Linked DNA regions of Homo sapiens: region 2 is linked to region 1. The links are contacts of gene promoters, found by promoter capture Hi-C in human tissues and cell types (Jung and others, 2019). All regions are on one chromosome and are shown on one strand. The core of a region is centred on a gene start or on the middle of the fragment in contact, and the rest is flanking DNA. Distances in the headings are between cores, read along the strand shown.

Region 1 (7,242 bases), core at 2,057-4,556:
GAATTATCTGTTTAGCTGTACAGTCTGAACAACAACACTGGAAAACAAACGATATCTGCAAATAGAACTTGAAGATCTTGTGACAAAAATTTACCCTTTTCTCTAGTTGTTTAGCTTTGCATCTCAGATGAAGAAAGGCAAAATAAAGGTTGTAATATTAAAATTATGTAAAATTACATACACGTGTGAGCACAAACTGGCATGGAAATGAAAAGCTGTTAGGATGAAGAAAGTATGTGAACTTTTTTCTTTTTCTTTTTCCTTTTGTTAGTGGAATGTTAAAATAAATGTATGACTAGACAAATATTTCTGACAAATTAGCCATTACAACTCTTCCTGTTACTGAATTAGGGCCTAATGCTTAACCTTCAAATAACTAAGGTTCCCAAACCCACATACAGTTTAGCAGAAAGACTAAAATACTCTCACTTCGAGGATAACTGTTAAATAATAAATCAGCTAACCACCTTAAAACTCCAAACACCTAAGCACAACCACTGAATCACACAAGAACTTAATACACCAGAGTTTTCTGGAAATTTTCAGATTTTCCTCAAAAGATAGCTAATGTGATTCCAAATATCAGAGTCTACACAGTAAAACTACATCATCACAGTAACCCATTCTCATCCCCGTCCTCTTTTATAGATAGCGATTTATAAGGTTGCTTCCGGCACCTATATGATAGAAACTATTAGGACTCAAGTTTTACTCTTTGTCATAATTATACAGTATTACATAATACTAATAACTGTTCAAAGTAATATTCTTTTCAAAATTACTGGAAAGGTTCCTACAGATCATACAAGGAAGAAAAAAAAGGAAATTACTGGAAAGAAATATGGTTTTGTTTTAGTCTTTTTTTTTTTTGAGACAGAGTTTCACTCTTGTCGCCCAGGGTGGAGCACAGTGGCACGATCTTGGCTCACTGCAACCTCCGCCTCCTGGGTTCAGGCTATTCTCCCGCCTCAGCCTCCTTAGTAGCTGGGATTACAGGCGTCCACCACCACGCCCGGCTAATTTTTTGTATTTTTAGTAGAGACAGGGTTTTGCCATGTTAGGCAGGCTGGTCTCGAACTCCTGACCTCAGGTGATCCACCCGCCTCGGCCTCCCAAAGTGCTGGGATTATAAGCGTAAGCCACCGTGCCTGGCCTGTTTTAGTCTTTTTATACAAACTTTGGACACCAATTTTTAAAAATCACTGGATTTACAATCCCACCACACTGTATTCCATAATAACCTTTATATTTATGTGAACAATTACTTCATAACAAAAATGGAAAAGAACAAATTTATGTGTGGTAATCACTGAAAAAAGAAGTCCACATGCACGTCAGGAAATATAAGGCTAAGAATGGGCACTAAGTGAACACAGGAGGTACTTTACACCAAATAATGCACTTCTCTATATAGGCTAATGGAATCTATGGGTAAACCTCAATTTCAAAATGATTGTTGAACCCAAGGATCAGCTCACATCCGTTCCACAGCTAAAACTATTATTCTTTGCCTTCCTCTAAACTCTGATGTTTATTACAACCTTATCAATGGCAATTTATAAGAGAAAAGCATAAGAATTTCCCTCAAAAAGTGAAACCAATGGGGAAAGGGAGAGGGAAAGGGCTCTAAATATCTGAGATGTCTTTTGTGGTGGTTGGTTAGCGGCCTCTTTTTAGCACTGACATTTCCAAGTTTTTTGTGAAAAGGAAATTTTAAGAATGTGCTGAAACCATCCTTTCAGAATCAATTCCCAGATAAGTTATGTTTCATTTGGCTTCTTTCTTTAAATTATTGTGATGGTAAACTGGAAGTAAACTGAAATACAGATACCTGAATATTTAAAAACTGATGCTTCTGAAAATTTTCAGAATTGTATCGACGTTTATTGTGTGTTGTCAGAGCACGAGATTAGTGAAGCAAAGCAGGACTCAATCTTGCACTAGTTGAGAACTTAAAGTAATTAAGTTCTTAGGGAAAAAAACTCACCTGACAGCTTTAATCGGACCTAGCAGGAACAGGACAAAACAATTCCCATAGATGAGATAACTCCAAGCGAGAAACCAATTTCCCCGAGAAGGACAAACCAACAAAGCTTATGTCAACTGGTTGATCTGTATGTCTCAATATATACAAAAGAAAGCAAAGAAGAGGAAAACAACCTATAATTTCTACATAAAAATTAAACAACACTTGATTTTGCTAAGAAGCTACAACTTTGTCTCTGGTACTTAAATGATTCTAATTAGTTCAAAGTCTCATCAATGGCAAAGTCATCTCCTGAGACAGTAATAGTGACCCCCAATGACAGGACCTTGTATATAAAGCGTTTTCAAACACATTATCTTATTTAAAGCAACTCACCCAGTCATGCTGCTTTGACTATCAAAGCCAAGACCCAGCCCACCTCCTCCCCTGACTTTTGGGGTTCTCTCCACTCCCCGGGTCTACAGATTATTTAAATGTACTCGGTTTATCTGCCTTCTCTACACTCCCTGCAGAGTTAAGAGAATGTCAGAAAGATACAATTCCACAAGAATCTTGGCACTTTAGCTATTTATTGAGAGATGATGAATGAGACTTCAGGCAAAACCAAAACTTTCTCAACTGTCCAAAAACAACGAAAAGGGCATCTCCTCCACCTGACCCCAATCTCAGGACGCCCAGGTGGAAGGAACTCGCCGCGGGGCACCCGCCTGGCCCCCTGCCCTTCTTCCCGCCGCGGGCCAAGGCGGTGCAGGCTTGGGCGACCCGGGCGAGACGCGGGGTCCCGGGGGGTCCCGGGCGGTCCCGAGGCGGGCTGCAGGGGCTGGCGACCCGCGCGCGGGGGCGACGATGACAGCTGGCGGGGAAGGAGCGAGGCTGAGGGGCCAGGACGAGGCTGGGCGCGAGGGCCGAGGGCGCCCTCGGGAACCTCCGGGGGAGACGAGAGGGCAAAAGGGCGCAGGGGCGGGGCGGGCGCAGGCGGAAGGGGCAGCGGGGCCGGCACGAGGGGCCCGACGGCGCCAGGGACGGGGCTGGCCAGGGGGGAAGGGAGGGGAGAAGAGGGAGCCGGGCGTCTCAGCGCGGGAGCGGGTTTCAGGGTCCCCGGGCCCCTCCTCGCGCCCCGCCGCTGACTATAGGGGCGGGGCCGCCGGACCCCCCACGGCGGCCGAGGGAAGGGCGCGCCAGGCACCTGCCGCCTCCGCCCCGGCGGCCCAGGAGGGCTCGGCTCTCACCTCGCCGGTTCATGGGTCGTATCCGCACCGCCACTTTCACTTTGGAGTCCCCCATCCTGCAGCCGCCGAGGAACTCGTTCGGCTTCCGTCTGCCGCGGCCACCGGCGACTCTTCGGGGTTGACCCGGCGGGAGGGGGCCGGGGGCGGAGCCGGGGGTGGGGACCGGGCTGGGGGCGGGGCCGGCGCGAGCTCCGGGCGCTCCCCGCTGTATGGCGGGACTTGTAGTTCCCCAGGGTCGTCGTGGGCGGGGCCGCAGCGAAGGCGGGGGCGGGAATGCTCGGGCGCGAGTCGTTTGCTACAACTTACCTACAGCAATGACGGCTTTTGTAAATTACACACCATTCTTGCTCTCGCAGCCAGTATTGAGAAGTAAGCCTTCAAGAGCTGATACCTCTTCTGAAAAACAATTGAATAGATGGCGTCAGGGACCCCGCTACCTCTTCCTGCTCATTTCCTGCCAATCTTAGTGTTTGATCCCTGGCTCAAGTTATTTCCTCTGCCTGGATTGACGTCCGGCCTTGTTTGCTGAGCTCGTCCTTCACGACAAGTTGCAAATCACGTTTTCTGGGAGTGTCCATAGGTCCACGGGTTAACATTGTCCTGTGAGTCCCCCTCCTTTGAGACAGGACCTTGGGCTCTGAAAACCATCTGAGTTCAAAGCCCACCTCAGCGCTTCCCACTGTGTGACCAGGGGCAAGTTATTTGACCGCTCTGGGCTTGTCTTTAATATGAAAAGTGGATATGATACTAATACCTAGTAAAATAGGTACATTTTTAAATAAGATTAACATATGTGTAACCTAGCCTTTAGTAGAGACCCATAAACATTAATTGCATGAATTAATGAATGAGGCCACACTAAAATTAGCTTTTTATTAGCCCTGGCAGACATTCTAACAGGTGGCCTGGGTGCCAGAGCCAGCACGCAAACATGTTCTGTTTGGCCCAACAGTGTTGGCCAACACATAAAAATCAGATTTGTGGCCAGGTGCAGGGGCTCACACCTGGAATCCCAGCATTTTAGGATGCTGAGGCAGGAGGATTGCTTGAGGCCAGGAGTTTGAGACCAGCTTGGGTAACAGAGTGTGAAATCAGATTTGTGCATGCAGTACTGGGCCTACATTACATATTGGACAGAGTGGATTGGAACTAAATAGCAGCAGCCACCTTTATCAGAGACCCGTCTCTCCACTTCACCACGGCCCCCCTCCAGGTGGCTTTACCACACATGCGCCTGGACCTTGTGGGTTTGTGACCCCTGCTTAGATGTGTTTAAATGATAGTAATAGAACTCAGAACCATTTTACAGATGAGTAAATACAGAAAGCTGGTAAGACTTGCCCTTTTACCAACCATCCTGTTATTGAGTATCTTCAATACAAGCAATGTTGTCAAAAAGTATAAAAATACTTTTTTTTTTTTGAGATGGATCTAGCTCTGTCACCCAGGCTGGAGTACAGTGGCATGATCTCGGCTCACTGCAACCTCCACCTCCTGGCTTCAAGCGACTCTCATGCCTCAACCTCGACAGTAGCTGGGATTACAGGCATGTGCCACCAATCCTGGCTAATTTTCATATTTTTAGTAGAGACGTAGTTTTGCCATGTTGACCAGGCTGGTCTCGAACTCCTGACCTCAGGTGATCCACCCACCTCAGTCTCCCAAAGTGCTGGGATTACAGGCATAAGCCACTGTGTCCGGTCTAAAAATACCTTTAAAAGAAAGGAAATTCTGAAACATGCTGCAACATGGATGATGGGCCTTGAAAACATTATGCTAGGTGAAATAAGCCAGACACAAAAGAACAACCACTGCATGGTTCTACATATATGAGATACACATGGTAGTCAAATTCATGGAGATAGAAAGTAGACTGGAGGTTACTAAGGGCTAGGAGAAGGGGGTATGAGGAGTTAGTATTCAATGGGTGCAGAGATTCGGCTTGGGAAGATTTCAGCTGCGGAAATGAATGGTGGTGATGGTTGCACAACAATGTAAATGTACTTAACGCCACCTAACCACTTAAGAGTGGTTAAGGCAGTAAGGTTTTTTGGGTTTTTTTAGAGACAGGATCTCGCTCTGTTTGCCCAGACTGGAGTGCAGTGGTGTGATCATAGCTCACTGCAGCCTCAAACTCCTGGGCTCAAGCGATTTTCCTGCTTCAGCCTCTCACCTAGATGGAATTACAGGTACGCACCACGACACCTAGCTAATTTTTATATTTCATTTTTTGGTAGAGATGGAGTCTCGCTATGTTGTCCAGGCTGGTCTTGAACTCTTGGCCTCAAGTAATCCTCCTCACTTCAGCCTCCCAAAGCACTAGGATTACAGGTGTGAGCCATTACACCCAGCCAAGATGGTAAGCTTTTTGTTGTTGTTTGTTTGTTTGTTTGAGATGGAGTCTTGCTCTGTCGCCCAGGCTGGAATGCAGTGAGTGACATGATCTCTGCTCACTGCAGTCTCTGCCTCCTGGGTTCAAGTGATTCTCCTGCCTCAGCCTCCAGAGTGACTGGGATTACAGGTGTGCACCATCACACACAGCTAATTTTTATATTTTTAATAGAGATGGGGATTCACCATGTTGGCCAGGCTGGTCTCAAACTCTTGACCTCAAGTGATCCACCCACCTCAGCCCCCCCAAAATGCTGGGATTACAGGTGTGAGCCACTGTGCCTGGCCAATAGTAAGTTTTATGTTACGTGTTTTTTATCAAAATTTCAAAAAAGGTTAAAAATAGAAAATGCTACCCCAGAAGGCCCTCTTTTTTAAAAAAGGAAATTTCTTTCTTAGGGGCACTGCCTCTGCACTTCAGGAGGTCTCATCTAGACCAGCAGTGGGTTTAGTGCAGCAGGTCCTTTGATTTTCACAGCCCAATAAAGTAAACAACATCAGGATAACCAAATTAGGATTGCCAATCTCAGTGTTTGACACTATGACAGCTTCTTAATTTTAGCAAGTATATATTTTTTTGAGACAGGGTCTCATTCTGTGCCCAGGCTGGAGTGCAGTGGCACCATCTTAGCTCACTGCAGCCTCAACCTCCCAGGCTCAAGCGATCCTCCCACCTTAGCCTCCCAAGTAGCTGGGACTACAAGCATGCACCACCATGCCCAGCTGATTTTTAAATTTTTTGTAGAAACAGTGTCTCGCTATGTTACCCACTCTGGTCTTGAACCCATGACCTCAAGTGATCCTCCCACCTCAGCCTCCCAAAGTGTTGGAATTACAGGTGTGAGCCATTGTGCTAGGTCACCGAGTAAATTATTTGAAAAAGAATGCACACAAAAATTACTATCTACCATCACTATCTTTTTTTTTTTTTAAAAAAGATCATAAAGGGTATGATTTTATATTGAAATTGTTTTGCCCTACTGTTCTTTTGCTCTTATTTAGTGTTGAAGTCACCTTTGCCATGGCCCCAGACTGGTTACCACAGGTTGGTACTCTTGTCTTAAACACACATCCTAATTACCACCTCCCTACATTCAGGTTATAAAAAATAAGGATTTGGAATGTCCCAAGATTCCATACGTCACTTTATATCTCTTTTATAACCAGGTAAATTTAATTTTTAAATGGCACGTCCTGGTGCTAGCTTGAATCTGGCTTTTTAAACAGAGTCAAAGCAGGCAGAAAAAGAGAACAAGAGAACATTTCTATGGAAATATTGTGTTTAAACTTAAGCTGAAACTGAAAAGAGAGGAAAGCCCCTAAGGACCTCAAGGAAGGGAAGAATAGAATAGAGAAGAAGTGAGGACTTTCTCTAAAGTCCTCAAAACCATTTAAAATGTTCTGAAAATATTTAGAGGAAAAGGACAGTAGCCTCCCTAGGGACTGCAGGGAAGAACCCCTGTGAGCTGTTTCCCCTTTTGACTTCTGTTCATACTACTCTGTCTCCTTTGACTTTTGCAGTGAAGATGATTCTTAAAAGAGAGCCCAGCCAGGCGCGGTGGCTCACGCCTGTAATCCCAGCACTTTGGGAGGCCGAGGCGGGTGGATCACAAGGTCAGGAGATGGAGACCATCC
Region 2 (7,242 bases), core at 1,610-4,109, 490 kb before region 1:
AAAGGAATTCTTAAGACACAGTGCCTGCCCTGGAGCTGAAGTGCCACCCACCTGTGTGTGGGTCATTGGTAGGACCAGGCTCTCAGGTAGCCACAGCCTCACGCAGGTGCCCTCCGGTTCCAGCCCCCAAGGGCAGGGCTGCACCTGCCACCCTGCACGTCTCCCCACAGCCCTGCCTCGCGTGGCAGCGCTCCCCAACAGAATGTGCCTGTGGCAGCCCTTGGGATGACGTGCGGCCTCATCTCTGGGCACAGCAGCCTCTCTGAGGCACATGGCCAGGGAAATAATTCTTCAACAAGAATTCACATGAAGCGCTATTTCAAATATAATCTGTTAGGTGGTCTGGTTTCTTGCTGGGGAGAGGGTCCCCTGCACTCCCACCCAGCACCCCCTACCTGAAGCAAGTGCTTGTTATCTTTGGTGTGCAGCACGGCCGAGACAGTTGCCAAGGAGATGCCAGGCTTGATCTCCATGGGCACCAGTGAATCTGCGAGCTGAAAGCAAAGGGCGCAGTTCAGGCTGGGGGCCTTTAATGATGACCATTACTCTTCCTTTAATCTGTATTTACATCACTGCAGTCTAAAAAGATGAAATAACTTTAAAGGTAAACAATTTTTTTTTTTTTGAGATGGAGTCTTGCTCTGTCGCCCAGGTGACACACCAAGTGCAGCCTTTCATTCATTCTGGCCTTTACTTCACCCTCATCCCCTCTCCAGGTGACCAGTGGCAGGAAGGACGGGGACAGCAGCATGGCGGTTGAGGGAGCTCTCTCTTCCTGAAAGTCTGACTTCTCCTGATGGTGGGAGCCACGGCTTTACCTGGGGGGTGGTATCTTTCCGACCACCTGCACCTGATGGGTGCCCTGCCGTGCAGCCTGACCTTATTAGGTGCTCTGTTGCTGGGTTTAGCTGCATGGTTTTTAAGACATGTAGACCCCTACCTAGCCAAGCCACCTTTATTTAAAAACAAAAACATGCAAGAGGCCATTATGTAAACATGAAGATCAATACCAAACGGGCAGAGGAAGCAGCTTAGGATACTTAAGCAGATTGGCAAGTGGTACGTGAGGCCTGTTTCATGAAATAAGAAAACGGCCTATGGCGAGCGTGAAGCGGCCCTTGCCGAGGAGCAGGGTGTGCGCCAGATCCCGTTCTTCACCTGAGGCCTCCTCCACACAGGCCCCTCCTCCCTGCACAAGGCTGGGGTGGGAGCTTTGGGGATGGCGTTCTGCGCTCTCCCTGGGCAGCCATGCACTATTTCCAAGACGACTCTGAAGGAGTCTTTTTTTTTTTGAGATGGGGCCTCACTCTGCTGCCCAGGCTGGAGTGTGGTGGTGTGATCATAGCTCATTGCAACCTCAACCTCCTGGGCTCAAGTGATGTTCCCTCCTCAGCCTCCCCAGTAGCTGGGACTACAGGCATGAACCACCACGCCTGGCTAATTTATTATTTTTTTGTAGATACGGGGGTCTTGCTGTGTTGCCCAGGCTGGTCTTGAACTCCTGGCATCAAGTGATCCTCCTGCCTTGGCCTCCCAAGGGCTGGGATTACAGGCCTGAGCCAATGTGCCTGGCCATAATGTCCATTTTAAAGGCAATTACTGTAGCAAGTTGGATTGAGACAGTTACCTCCATTAATGATCAAAGACGTACAGTTTGGCTGGGTGCGGTGGCTCACGCCTGTAATTCCAGCACTTTGGGAGGCCACGGTGGGCAGACTGGAGTTTGAGACCAGCCTGGCCAATATGGTGAAACCCCATCTCTACCAAAAATACAAAAATTAGCTAGGATTGGTGGCATGTGCCTATAATCCCAGCTACTCGAGAGCCTAGGGAGGAGAACTGCATGCACCCGGGAGGCAGAGGTTGCAGTGAGCCAAGACTGTGCCACTACACTCCAGCCTGGGCAACACGGCAAGACTCCGTCTCAAAAAAAGACATAGGGCCGGGCACGGTGGTTCACGCCTGTAATCCCAGGACTTGGGAGGCCGAGGTGGGTAGATCACAAGGTCAGGAGATCAAGACCATCCTGGCTAACACAGTGAAACCCTGTCTCTACTAAAAATACAATAAATTATCCAGGTGTGGTGGCAGGTGCCTGTAGTCCCAGATACTCGGGAGGCTGAGGCAGGAGAATGGCGTGAACTCAGGAGGTGGAGCTTGCAGTGAGCAGAGATCTCACCACTGCACTTCAGCCTGGGCAACACAGCGAGACTCCGTCTCAAAAAAAGAAAAAAAAAGACATACAATTTAAAATTAGATAACAGTGTATACTTATATAACTGGAAAAGACTTGAATAAAATTGGAAAATAACTAAAAAAGGACAACATTCAATATTAGCAAGGAGGCAGAAGTAAGAGCTGTCTCCAGCTCTGCTGTGGGAGTATAAACTGTCACACTCATTCTAGAGGACAAGCTGGCAATATATAGCCTCGAGCCAGAAAGGGATGTTCATAATCTTTGACCCAGAAATTCTAACTTCAGAAAATTTTCTTATGGAAATAAACATATATGGACAAAGATTTATGTAAAAGGATGCTCCTAAAAGTGTTATTTATAACACAGAAAAACCAGAAATGAAAATCTGTGAAAAAAGGGGCCAGGCGCAGTGGCTCACGCCTGTAATCCCAGCACTCTGGGAGGCCAAGGCGGGTGGATCACAAGGTCAGGAGATTGAGACCATCCTGGCTAACACGATGAAACCCCGTCTCTACTAAAAATACAAAAAAATTAGCTGGGCATGGTGGCGGGTGCCTGTGGTCCCAGCTACTAGGGAGGCTGAGGCAGGAGAATGGCATGAAGCTGGGAGGCGGAGCTTGCAGTGAGCCAAGATCGCGCCAATGCACTCCAGCTTGGGTGACAGAGCGAGACTCCGTCTCAAAAAAAAAAAAAAAAAATCTATGAAAAAAGGAACTGTTAAATTATGACAGACCATTATGCAACCATTAAAGCTGAAGCTTTTGAAATATCTTTTTTTTTTTTCTTGAGACGGAGTCTCGCTATGTTGCCCAAGCTGGAGTGCAGTGGCGCGATTTTGGCTCACTGCAACCTCAGCCTCCCGAGTAGCTGCGATTACAGGCGCCTGCCACCACGCCTGTGGCTAATTTTTGTTTTTTTATTAGAGACAAGGTTTCATCATGTTGGCCAGGCTGGTCTTGAACTCGTGACCTTAAGTGATTCACCCCCGCCTCAGCCTCCTGAAGTGCTGGGGTTTACAGGCATGAGCCACCATGCCCAGCTGAAATATATATTTTTTGAGACAGAGTCTCGCTCTGTCATCCACGTAGGAGTGCGGTGGCATGATCTTGGCTTACTGCAACCTCTGCCTCCCGGTTCAAGCAATTCTCTGCCACAGCCTCCAAGTAGCTGGGATTACAGGTGCGTGACACCACGCCCAGCTAATTTTTTTTAGTGGAGATGGGGTTTCACCACCTTGGCCAGGCTAGTCTTGAACTCCTGACCTCATTGTCCACCCGCCTCGGCCTCCCACAGTGCTAGGATTACAGGAGTGAGCTACCATGCCTGGCTGAAATATCTTAAATGATATAATGTACTTACTGATAGGTGAAAAAGACGACAGTGTATGAGGTGTGATTCCAGTAGGCACACACACAGTGAACAGACAAGGCAAATACATCAAAATCTTAACATTTATCCCTGGCACTGGGACTGATTTTTGCTTTTGTCTTTATCCCTTAGTTATGTTAACATATAATAGGTTTGTATTATTAAGTGAATATTTTTAAAATGTCTTAGTTTTAATTTCTCATATAGCAAACATCAATAGACATAACCCACATAAACAAAACCTCTTTGGAGTTCTATTTGTAAGGATGTCTGAGACCAAAAGGTTTAAGGAATGCTGGCTTAGAGAGTTGAAATCTAAACCAAGGCCGTCAATCCCAGCCCCTGTAAAATACCAGACAAAAACAATCCAGAGAAAGTGAAAAAATCATAACAAAATGATAAAAACATATTAAACATTAAACAACCATAAAGATGGCACCTGGTGGTCCCTAGCAGCCTCTCCAGGCTCATGGAAATGAGTCACATTCAGGAGCCAAGACCTCCAACCCAAGGTCTGGAGGCCATTTCTGAACCTCAGACTCCAAAAGAAGTTTGGGCACACTGGTTTTAACAATAAGTTTTTATATTTCTTTTTCCTGTCTGTTGAAAACACATTCAAGTTGCCTCAAGAGGTGAAAGGAAGCCAGAGGTAGCCTCCAACCATCCTCAACGCTGTCTTTCAGGAGAGGCCGCGTCCCTCTCTGTCTCCCTCTCAGAGGAGTGGCCCAAGCGCAGCATGCCACAGCTGTTCAACATGGACAGCATGCTTTGGCTCTTTCCCTGCTAAAACTGAAGCTAAGAGTTCACAGACCTATAAAATACTTAGACTTTGATAGACCAAAACCTGCAAGTATGCTCAAGAGGATATAAATAACCAAGTTTACAATCCTTATTTTTTGGTTCCTGTTATCTCCCCCATCTACCTCTGAATTCAGCAAACTCTTGACACTCACTCATAACTGAGGTCCAGGAAGGAAGAGAAAAGTCACCATCCTATGGTATTTAGGGACAGAGCGGGTGTCAGCATCTCCACTTCCCAGGGCTCTGACCCATGATGTGGCCCAGGGCTCACGCTGCTGAATGCTAGGTAAGGAGCAGTCCTGACTAACAGCTGTTATTTTATTAGTTGAAAAACAAGAAGGCCCTGAAAATCCCCCCTCTTCCCGGTTACTTGGTTAAGGGTCCATGTTCTTTGTTCATTCATACTTGGAGTCTCACTCTGTTGCCCAGGCTGGAGTGCAGTGGTGTGATCTCGGCTCACTGCAACCTCCACCTCCTGGTTCAAGCGATTCTCAGGCTTCAGCCTCACGAGTAGCTGGGATTACAGATGCGTGCCACCACACCTGGCTACTTTTTTTGTATTTTTAGTAGAGATGGGGTTTTGCCATATTGGCTGGGCTGGGTTGGCCAGGCTGGTCTCGAACTCCTGACCTCAAGTGATCCGCCCACCTTGGCCGCCCAAAGTGCTGGGATTATAGGCGTGAGCTACTGCGCGCAGCCTGGTTCATTTATACTTGACATAAATCCAAAAGAAGGCCACCCCTGCACGATCTCCAAGAGCCTCTGTGGAAAGCTCTAGTTTAACCCTAGGAAGGAGAACAGCTCACCTCTGGCATGATCTCGATCTTCTCGTACCGACGTTTGAAGGGCAGGGCGAGAACCTCAGCCCGCCGATAGGACATGGCGGGGGGCTGGCAGTCGATCATGAGGTCCATCCTGTGGGACTGGGCTGGGGGCGGCTGAGTGTACTGCTCAGGACACACCACGTGCAGGGGCTGAGGAACCAATGGGACAGTTGAGAAAGGTGGTGTGAAGTACAGTGGCCCCTGTGGAAGGCCCATTCCTGACCCCGATCCACTCCCCGCCATTACAGGCTCACCACTTCCAGGCCAAGGTGAACTTTCATCCTCTCAAGCCCAATGAACCGTAGACAGGAGAGGGAACGTGAAGGCACTGGGGCAGAAGAAACATCTCGGAAACCCCTAAACTGCCTCAGCTTAATTTATCTTTCTTACTCTTTACATAAGTTTCACGGTAACTTCCATGTGTCTGCTCCCAGCGGTCTCTGGGCTTCCTCGGGGCACGGTCTTTCTCTAACATTCCCACATGCCTGCTATTATAAGCTCTTGGCTGATTACCAAGAGCTGTGGCTTTTCGTGCCGGGCTGGCGCTGTGGGTTTGGAGTTTCCGCTGGATCTGCAGGTCAGCTGGTATTAGGCAGTGGGCACTCCTCAGCTCATGTGCTCACCATGTGCAACCAAGGAGCAGAGGCAGAGTTTTTTTTTTTTGTTTTTTTTTTTAAACAAAATGTCTCTTTTTGTTATCTTGAGAAAAAAAGATTAGTAAACCAATTTTTACTTTGCACAAATATCACCCAAATGAAAAGGAATGCTGGCAGCCCACAGGGGCACTGTGTTGTCCCTGCTTCTACTTAAGAGCTTGGACCAAGCCCTGAATTCCCTGCTGAAGACGGCTTTCCACCAGGCTGACCGGGCTGAGCTTCCAAAAGCACTTGTTCCTTAGGGCTAATACTTTTCTCCTCCAAACTGCCCTTTGCTCCTCCTCTTGACCTGTCTCAAAGCATCTCATGCCACAGGTGCAGTCTGATGGCTTCTCCCAGGTTTTCCTCACCTAAAGTGGAGACCAGGTGGCCTCCAGTTTCCAGGATTAGCACCTGACAGAGGGGCGTCAAGAGCTGGTTTAGGGACTGGGATTTGAAGTTAATAATGAAAAGCAACACGCCTTTCACTGCTGCTTCTAACGTGGATGAGCATACATTGGGGTAGCGAATCACTGTAGACAGGCCCCACGTTTGCTGTCTGCTCTCATCATACCTAGAGAGTGCCAGTATTCTTTCTTCATTGGGCAAGCACATTAATAATCACCAGAATCCGCTCTTGGGGCCCTCCTGGGGTTCTCCGGCTTTCTCTGTTTCCTGTTCCCCTGCCTTAGAGTTTTGTGAAAGGGCCTCTCTCATCCTGAGGTTGAAGGTGCTGTGCTGGGCCCCTCCACCCTCATCTCACTCCTGGGAACACCAGGGAGTGGAAAGGGAGAGCTCTTCCTCGCCGGTGTCAGCTGTCCTCCTTGCCAATTCCAGTTCCTCTCCCGACTCTCAAGAGCCAGAAACCCAGCGAGCAGTGGCTGAGCCAGCACAGTGGTTCCGTGGCCCTGCCTTCCTGCTACGCGCGCCTCCTGGTCTACACTGCACCCCAGCTACTTCTTCCCTTTCTCCAGGGCAGAAAATGTGAAGTGAAACAAATGACCAAAAACTGCCACAAAACCCAAACCCGACAGCACTGTTTGTGGTACCAGCCTACACGTGCGACACGGCCCCAGTAACGCGTTTCATTTAAACTGTCTCAGCTTAGTGAGTATGTTTCTAGAATGACTTTTTTTTTTTTTGGCAGGGGTGAGAGGGTTTGCTTTTAAGCGGACACAGATGGTTTTCTTTCCCTTCCACATCTGATTTCTTTAGAATGGAAACTGCGGTCAGGGTGTAAAGACCACTCCTTTTCAGTGTGGAGGGGGGCTGGCATGTGTCCCAGCATTCTGCAGATGCGTGAGAACTGAAGACAAGAATCAAACACAGCTAGATCTCTCTCCCCTCACCCCACACAAGCATGAGCCACACCAAGGTGACATGACTACGTGAAGGCACAAGCAGTGTCCTTCATTAC

What was found. The method cuts DNA at HindIII sites, captures the fragments that hold promoters and counts their contacts. A contact is called where the count stands out against the background at its distance.
Region 2: a contact is called between a fragment that was not itself captured here and the fragment with the promoter of KIF13B in region 1, in 2 of the 25 tissues and cell types used here (aorta and spleen).

Annotation. Positions count from the first base shown.
Region 1 is chr8:29,259,764-29,267,005 of GRCh38, forward strand. KIF13B (kinesin family member 13B) reads right to left here and starts at 3,307. Exons shown (of 40, transcript NM_015254.4): 1 at 3,217-3,307. The coding sequence starts at 3,271. RefSeq lists a silencer at 2,685-3,514. The HindIII fragment of the contact is 11,996 bases long and covers 521-7,242 here.
Region 2 is chr8:28,770,587-28,777,828 of GRCh38, forward strand. INTS9 (integrator complex subunit 9) reads right to left here. Exons shown (of 17, transcript NM_018250.4): 14 at 5,173-5,340; 15 at 396-494. Among named protein-coding and RNA genes, the nearest start is that of EXTL3, 73 kb to the left of the region's middle. RefSeq lists a silencer at 6,833-6,902. The HindIII fragment of the contact is 4,801 bases long and covers 460-5,260 here.